3 separate regions of the Homo sapiens genome follow, and regions 2 and 3 are each linked to region 1. The links are contacts of gene promoters, found by promoter capture Hi-C in human tissues and cell types (Jung and others, 2019). All regions are on one chromosome and are shown on one strand. The core of a region is centred on a gene start or on the middle of the fragment in contact, and the rest is flanking DNA. Distances in the headings are between cores, read along the strand shown.

Region 1 (2,708 bases), core at 52-2,551:
ACAGGCTCCCTGGAGGATGTGCCTCCTCCCCCTTCAGGATTTAGCTCCTCTACTTCCCCTGGGCTGGTGTGGGCACATTGTCTGTGCTTTGACAGTCCCTAGATCCCATGTGTTCTAGAACCTTCTCTCCCAAAGCAGAACTTTTTTTTTTTTTCCTGTTTTCTGTTTTTTAAATCTATCTCAGCCTCCTGACAAGCAATAAGATTTGGAATATTTGTTGAGGGGATAAATAAATGAACTCCTTAGTCAGTGCAGAGATCTGTGCATTGCGGCCATTTCTTGAGCATTGCCGCCATTTCTTGAGCATTGCCATGTGCAGGTCAGAGACGTGGGAGCCCCCACACAGCGGGGAGGAGAGCAGAGGCGGAGGATGGGGGGGCTGGGCTAACCCAGGCTTTCCAAGCTGTGATGGGGCAGGAGCTTCTCCACTAGCTCGAGGGAGGGGGAACTTGGGCTCTGGGCGCCTGTTTTGGAGGTTGCATCCCTTTGAGGGGCGCTACGGGTTGCAACTCACGCAGGAAAGGTGACCTTAGTAGTGATGGAGGTGGAGTGGGCCAATTTCTGGATCTTTATTTAGTCACCTCCAGCCTTGCTGGGACAGGGATCTGGGGCTAAGCTGCTGTGGTCTCGGCACCCTCTGTCCCCACTTCCCCTCGAGGACGGCTGTTTGAATATTGTCTAGTGTGGGCCATTTACCCCCGTGGGCAGGAGGAAGGTAGGAGGGACTTCAAAGGAGACTTCAAGGGCCCCCCCACTGCCCTTCTAACCTTGCAGATTCCCCTCTCGGGCCTGTTTCCTCTTCTCTCAACCAGCGATGCCAGGCTGAGGCTGTAGGTTCGAGAATCACGTAGGTAATGGGCCTGGCACATAGTAGGCTCTCAAGAAAAGGTTGGAGCCTCTTGAGGAGTCTGCCTGTGATGGATGCGGAGCGCAGACCCAGCGCAGTGCGGCGATTCGCCCAAGGTCACACAGCCGCCCCCCCCAATTCGGACCCCGGGCGGCCTGACTCCGGGGGCCGGGGCTTGTCGGGAGCCAGCGTGGGGGCGAGCAGTGTTTGGAAGAGCGGCCGCGGCAGTGGGTGGGAAGGGGCTTCTATTTTGGAGCGGGTGAGAGGAGCGGGACACGCGGAGGAGGTAAGGAAGGGGTAGGCCCTCTCCGGGATCTCTGTCCCCCAGTCACCTTCCTGCGACCCTTCCTGGGAGGGGCGTCCTGGGCGGTGGGGGAAGGTGGGAGGGGCGGGCGGTTACCTCATCGCCGCCTCCGGGAGGCCCCGCTCGCTCGCGCCGGCGGCTGGGGCGGCGACTCCAGGCGCGGAAGCGAGAGAAGGATAGAGGCACAGAGGCTCCGGGAGGCAGCGCTGCCCCCCGCGCCCCGCACCGCTGCGGGACCCGCGCCGCGAGAGGGGCGGACTTCGGCGCCTCGCGCGTCCGCCGGCGCCTGGGTTGGCGCTGCGGGGCGGAGGCGGTGTCTGAGCGCCGCTCCGGCTCTGCTCTCTCTCGAGCTTCGGCACCCGCCCGAGCCGCTCGCGCGCCCGCCACCTGTCTGCCCACTCGGCTGTCTGTCTGCCCTCCCGCCGCCAGCTCCTGCCTCGGGCCTGCCCTCTCCGGTCTCGGTGCTCCGAGGGGCGACGAGAAGCGCGACGGGGCCGTGGCGCACCGGGCAGGGCGCGCGGGGCGCACGGCCTGGGGGCGCACGGTGCGGCGCCGGCCCATGAGGCTTTCCAGCGCGGGGAGCGACAGCGCCGGCCGGCCATGGGGGGTAGCCTGCGGGTGGCCGTTCTAGGCGCCCCGGGCGTGGGCAAGACGGCCATCATCCGCCAGTTCCTGTTCGGTGACTACCCCGAGCGCCACCGGCCCACGGACGGGCCGCGCCTCTACCGACCCGCGGTGCTGCTCGACGGCGCCGTCTACGACTTGAGCATCCGCGACGGCGACGTCGCTGGCCCCGGCTCGAGCCCCGGGGGTCCGGAGGTAGCGGCTCGAGGAGCGGGCAGGGGCGTGTGACAGTGTGAGGGGTGTGCGTGCTCGGTGCACACGTGCGTGTCCGCGTGGAGGCCTCGGGCGCCTGGCTGTGCTCCGGGATGGAGGGATGTGTGTGCGTCCTGGGATACTTGCGTTTCAGCCCTTCCCGCCGACCTGGAGACGCCCAAGCCCAGGCTGGAGGCCGGGCGATTTTGCCCAGGGGCGTTCCCTTGCTCCTGTGAGCGCCTCCACCTTTGCCTGCCTCGGCTGGGGGTGTGGAGCAGCTCTTGGTGGTGCATAACGGTGCCTTCCCGAGAGTGTGGCGTTTTGTGTTTGGGGCCTTGAGCAGAGCTACAATGGGAGAGACTGGGGTCAGGAGCAGGGGTGTACTTTCTACGGGGGCTGGTGGAGGGGTTCATTCTCTGCCCTATCATTTTTGTCCCCTGGAGCGAAGACTCGTTTAGTAATTTGTGCAAAGTAAAGGACAGACCTCCGACCCTAGAGCAGTGAAGAGGAAAGAGCAGGCAGGATTAAGCAGGGCTTCCTGGAGGGAGTGGCATTTGAGCTGAACCTGGAAGACCGAGTGAAGTTCTGAGTAAAGGAAGTGGCAAAAACATACCAGGTGGAAAGACCAGCAGGTGCTTACGCTACGGTCATAAACGGTTACAGCTGACAATCTGGGGGCGTGGTGGACCACGGGACTCGGGCCAAGGGCTTTGGAATTAGTCTTAGAGGCCGTGGTAAGCA
Region 2 (2,700 bases), core at 180-2,679, 150 kb before region 1:
TCTCTTATTTAATGTTGTATTCCTAGGGCCTGGTACCAGAGTATTAGTAAAGCTTGTTGAATGAATAAATGCGATTCAGCGGTGACTTCCCATAGATGCTACTCCATGTTATTCATGTCACTGTAATCCATCTTGGGCTGCATTTCACAAGCCAGCATTGAAGAAAGCTGGGCTCAGAGAGCCTTAGAGACCATCAGTGGTACAGATGAGGAAACCGAGGGCAGGCCTGGTTCTCACTGCCTCGCCTCTGGTTCTGCGACTGGAGCTCCGTGAGGACAGGAACCAGGACTTGGATGTTGTTTTCTGGCTTGGCAGGGTGCTTTGCCTGTGATCACAGTCATTGCCTTTTACTAGGTGCTTATAAGGTGCCAGCCCCTTTATGTGTTTTTCCACGTTTGCATATCCACAGGGAAGGGAGGTGCAATTATCCCCATTTACAGATCAACAAACAGGTGTAGGGAGGTTAAGTAATTTGGTTATTTATCAGTGTCTTCTGGTTCCTTTCATAAATTTATCTGGGTTCCACTGTAGCCTCACAACATTGTCATCAAACCCACTTTCGGCGGTGCAGTGGCTCACACCTCTAATCCCAGCACTTTGGGCGGCCAAGCGAGAGGATCGCTTGAGCCCAAGAGCTCGAGACCAGCCCAGGCAACACAGAAAAACCTCATTTCTACAAAAAATAAAATAAAATAAAAATAGCTGGGTGTGGTGGCGCGCCTGTGGTCCCAGCTCCTCGGGAGGCTGAGGTGGGAGGATCGCTTAAACCTGGAGAGGCGGAGGTTGCAGTGAGCCGAGATCACGCCACGGCACTCCAGCCTCGGCAACAGAGCGAGACCCTGTCACAAACGAACACTCTCCAGAGGGGGAAACCGAGGCCCTGGGACTGCAGAACCGGTTTCTCTGCCTCGGCATACTGCCTCGGCTGGCTCTGCGCTTGATAGAATCGCGCCAGCAACAGCGCCCCCTGCAGGCGACGGCGGGCACGCCTGCGTCACAGCCATCCCCGCCCTTCCGCAGTGGGAACGCCCGAATGCTTCATCCGGCCTCGGAAGATTGAAGAGCGCTCCTCCAAACTGGCTCAGGGAAGCCGGGCGCGCCGCCTTCAGCCCCGCCTTGGCCGCCGCGGCGTCGCATCAGTGGCATCCCCAGGGGCTGCAGGAAGGTAGCCGTAGCCTTGGCTGTCGTGGCTTCCCTCATCGTAACGGCCTGGGGGCAGCGGTGCTCAAAGAACTCAGGGGGTGGGGCTCAGGTAGGGGCATGGCCGGTGCTCTTCCTAGGGGCGGGATCCTGGGAAAGGGGATCGTCCCAGAAGGACCCAGCCACAAGCGAGGACACCGGTGCATCAAGCCCTGGCGCCTGTGTTTCCGTGAACAGCGCCCTTCTCCTCCTCCCCAGACATTGGTCCTGGCACCTGTGTGTCCGTGGGCAGCAGCCTCTTCCTCCTCCCCAGACCTCAGTTTCTGCACGTGTGAAAAGGGGGCTCTTCCAAGACTCTTACATGAATGCAAAAATCGGGATTTCGTCCAGCATGCTCAGAATTGTCGACCCTACACAGGCACCTGAGAAATCAGAGCTGAGTCAGGAGAGCCGGTGTGGATGTACTGGGAGCTCCTTCCCTTGCTGCGTCAGCACTCTTGAGACTGGAGAGCCCTGGAGGTTGGGGACCGGCCACTTGCTGGTGGACCAGACTCCCTGCAGTCTGGGATGGTGACAGACATGAGACATGGCTGTGGAAGTAATTGGTAACAGTAGTAGCCCGCATTTATTGAGCACTGACTATGTGCTTGGCTTTGTGTGAAGGCCAGTCACATGCATTATTTCCCCCTCCCACAGCCTTGTCTGGTGGGTACTGCTATTCTGTCCCCAGTTTACTGATGAGACATTTGAGGCCCAGAGTTGCTGGGTAGTAACCAGTCCAAAGTCACCCTGCTGACAAGTAGCTGAAGCAGTAGTCCCCAGTCTTACCTACTATACTGTACTGAGAAAGGTTTGACCTGGAAGGCAGAATGGCAGAGGGGGAAATGACAAGGTTCTAGCAGTATTAATAATAGATACCATGCATTGAGCACCCACTAAGTGCTGGGTGCTGGCCCAAGGGCATTTCATGAATCATTTATCCTCCTGACAGTGAACCCTATACTGTAAATTTTATTTCCATTTCAAAGGTGAAGCTCGGAGAAGTCACTTTATATGCCTTAGGGCACATATAGTAAAAAACTAACTTTTCGATTCATTGATGGTGCATTCTGCCTGCCTGCATGTCACTCTTAGGCATATTCCACTCTTCTCTGAGTCAAGCTTTCTCCTACTGTGAAATGAGAGGCTTGGACTGGGAGACTTTGAATGTTCTTTCCCCAGCCGATGTTGTTTGATTTTAGGGAGTTTTGACATGAATGTTGGAGATCTGGATTTGAGGATTACATTTGTTCCTAATTAACTGTAATTTAGGCACATCTCTGCATCTCTGGGCTTCAGTTTCCGCATTAGTAAAAGGTAAGACTAGACCAGGCATGTTGGCTCATGTCTGTAATCCCAGAACTTTGGGAGGCTGAGGAGGAAGGAGGATTGCTTGAAGCCAGGAGTTTGAGTCCAGCCTGGGCAACAAAACAAGACCCTGTCTCTACAATAAAAAAAAATTAAAAAGTTCAAATTAGCCAGGTGCAGTGGCTCATGCTTGAAGTCCCAGCTACTTGGAGA
Region 3 (2,766 bases), core at 161-2,660, 230 kb before region 1:
GGCCCTTCCTGATCTTGATCTTCTGTCCTAGCCATGATCAGGTGATTGGAGCCTGAGGGCTCCCAAAACCTGTGAATTTATTGGAACTTCTTATCACCATTCAGTCACCAATTACAGGAATGAAAGTACAGGATAATTAATTTTTTCCCTACTAATTTGATCATTCATCCAATTAATATTTATTAAGTGCCAGGCATTTTGCTAGGTGTTGAGAAATGATGGTACTTATACATTTGCTTGATACAAAGATGGATGTGTACAAGTAAATTGTAGATACCAAAAATGAAATTATCATTAATAGTAAATGAATAAATGAGGTTTTAGGGGCAGAGAAATTAAACAATGTGACTAAAAACTCGATAGATAAGTTTTTTAAAATCCATTTTTTCCCCCAGGAATCTCACGTATTTGTGCTTATGCTGACAAGTTTTGTTAGAATTATTGCATTCAATCTATTCTAGCCAAGCTTTATGGCTATAATTCTGTTATTTTCCATTTAAGTTATCCTGTAATGTTATTTATAGAGGTCAAATTTTATGACAAGATGTTACTATTGCTGGGATCTCTGTGTAGGATCTGTAGAGATAGATTGTGCCTTTGCTGCCCTTATTCCATCTTCAATTCCTGTTACTCTAGTCCAAGCAGAAATTACTTTTTTTTGCCCGAGATTCTTAATCATTTTCCTTATACAATCATCCTCTTATTTTCTTCATGACCCTTCTCATGGTTCTGAGCTCCCTCCGGTGCCGTTTTTGGCCCCAGATGAGGATGGGTCAGTGGTGAAGGACTGAAGGAAGCTGAGCTAGCCCTGTCGTCAGTGGGCTTTACTGTTTTCTTTGCCCACAGGCAATAGAAATAGAAGAACGGAGGATCCAGAGCTGTGTGCATTTCATGACTCTAAAGAAGCTTAACCGATTAGCCCACATCAGGTTGAAGAAAGGAAGAGATCAGACCCACGAGGTAGTAGTTAAAAGGTTTAATTTTAACCTTCCTCCTTCCTCCTCCCCATCCCCTTCTTTTTTTTTTTTTTTTTTTTTTTTTGAGACAGAGTCTCGTTCTGTCCCCCAGGCTAGAGTGCAGTGGCACGATCTCAGCTCACCACATCCTCTGCCTCCCAGCTTCAAGCGATTCTCCTGCCTCAGCCTCCTAAGTAGCTGGGATTACAGGCACCTCCCACCACCATGCCTGGCTAATTTTTGTATTTTTTAGTAGAGATGGGGTTTCACCTTGTTGGCCAGGCTTGTCTTGAACTCCTGAGCTCAGGTGATCCACTCGCCTCGGCCTCCCAAAGTGCTGGGATTACAGGCGTGAGCCACTGCACCCAGCCCCATCCCCTTCTTTATTCCCTTTACACCTTCTCTTAGTTTGCTGACCCTCTCCTCTGCTCCATCCTGACTTGCCCTGCTCACTTCTGATCGTATTTTCCTTTCAGGCTAAGCAGAAAGTAGATGCCTATCATCTGCAGCTCCAGAACCTGTTGTATGAGGTGATGCACCTACAGAAGGAGATCACCAAATGTTTGGAGTTTAAGTGAGTTTGGGAGGACAGGGCTTTGGCACATGTGGTCTTTCGGTAACTGCTTTTTCCCATGTAGCTCACTGTAAGTCTGTTTCTTTTTTTTTTTTGAGACGGAGTCTTGCCCTGTCACCCAGGCTGGAGTGCAGTGGCGCAATCTCAGCTCACTGCAACCTCCACCTCCCGGGTTCAAGCAATTCTCCTGCCTCAGCCTTCTGAGTAGCTGGGATTGCAGGCGCCCACCTCCACATCCAGCTAATTTTTGTATTTTTAGTAGAGACGGGGTTTTGCCATGTTGGCCAGGCTGTTCTCGAACTCCTGACCTCAGGTGGTCCTCCCGCCTCGGCCTCCCAAAGTGCTGGGATTACAGGCGTGAGCCACCGCTCCCAGCCTAAGTCTCTCTTTAAAAAGAAATCTGATGAGCTTAGAAAACTGTAGGATCTGGGAGAAGGGCAAATTGCAAGGGTGAATGTGGGAGAATTGCAAGCCGTGATTTCAGGCTGCATAAAGAACCTCAGAAGTCTCTCTGACCTTTTTGAGTTTTGAGCTCTGCACTTGGTAAAAAGCAGGTCTCTCTCCCTATCAGGGGTCTTTACATTACCAGTTTGATTTCTGGGCATGTTGTATGGGAGCAACTCACTTCCAGTCACATTCTTTTAACCTTTTGGCCCAGTTTTCCTTTCTGTAGTCCCAGCAGTTCATTTCTGCAAATGGATTTTATTCTTTGGAACCTGAATTTCTTGCTGCTTAGCTGCCTTCAGGTGAAGAAACTACAGTTTGTCAGTGTCCTTCCTCAAAACCAAGCTGAGAGATGAGAAGGAGGAAGGAGTAAACGGGAAGAGAAGGGGAAGTGTTCTCACTTGATCAGACCTGTTTATGCAAACTGAAAGCAGCTTTTATCTGTAACAAACTTGACATATGCAGGGGCCCTATTAGACATTGGGTCCAGGATATATATATATATATATATATATATATATTTTTTTTTTTTTTTTTTTTTTTTTTTTTTTTTGGAGATGGAGTCTTGCTCTGTCGCCCAGGCTGGAGTGCAGTGGCGTGATCTCGGCTCACTGCAAGCTCCGCCTCCCGGGTTCACGCCATTCTCCTGCCTCAGCCTCCCGAGTAGCTGGGACTACAGGCGCTTGCCACCACGCCCGGCTAATATTTCGTGTTTTTAGTAGAGACAGGGTTTCACCGTGTTAGCCAGGATGGTCTCGATCTCCTGATCTTATGATCCGCCTGCCTCAGCCT

What was found. The method cuts DNA at HindIII sites, captures the fragments that hold promoters and counts their contacts. A contact is called where the count stands out against the background at its distance.
Region 2: a contact is called between a fragment that was not itself captured here and the fragment with the promoter of RASL10A in region 1, in 4 of the 25 tissues and cell types used here (dorsolateral prefrontal cortex, lymphoblastoid cells, spleen and 1 more).
Region 3: a fragment that was not itself captured here is called in contact with the fragment with the promoter of RASL10A in region 1 in 2 of the 25 tissues and cell types used here (H1 embryonic stem cells and stomach).

The regions. Positions count from the first base shown.
Region 1 is chr22:29,314,290-29,316,997 of GRCh38, reverse strand. RASL10A (RAS like family 10 member A) reads left to right here and starts at 1,301. Exons shown (of 3, transcript NM_006477.5): 1 at 1,301-1,970. The coding sequence starts at 1,752. RefSeq lists enhancers at 1,305-2,109, 2,110-2,708. The HindIII fragment of the contact is 15,140 bases long and covers 1-2,708 here.
Region 2 is chr22:29,468,859-29,471,558 of GRCh38, reverse strand. LOC107985541 (a long non-coding RNA gene) reads left to right here. Exons shown (of 4, transcript XR_001755482.2): 2 at 1-2,700. Among named protein-coding and RNA genes, the nearest start is that of NEFH, 10 kb to the left of the region's middle. RefSeq lists an enhancer at 915-1,415. The HindIII fragment of the contact is 5,351 bases long and covers 1-2,700 here.
Region 3 is chr22:29,541,623-29,544,388 of GRCh38, reverse strand. It overlaps THOC5 (THO complex subunit 5), which reads left to right. Exons shown (of 20, transcript NM_003678.5): 4 at 847-960; 5 at 1,433-1,530. Among named protein-coding and RNA genes, the nearest start is that of THOC5, 11 kb to the left of the region's middle. The HindIII fragment of the contact is 4,062 bases long and covers 1-2,766 here.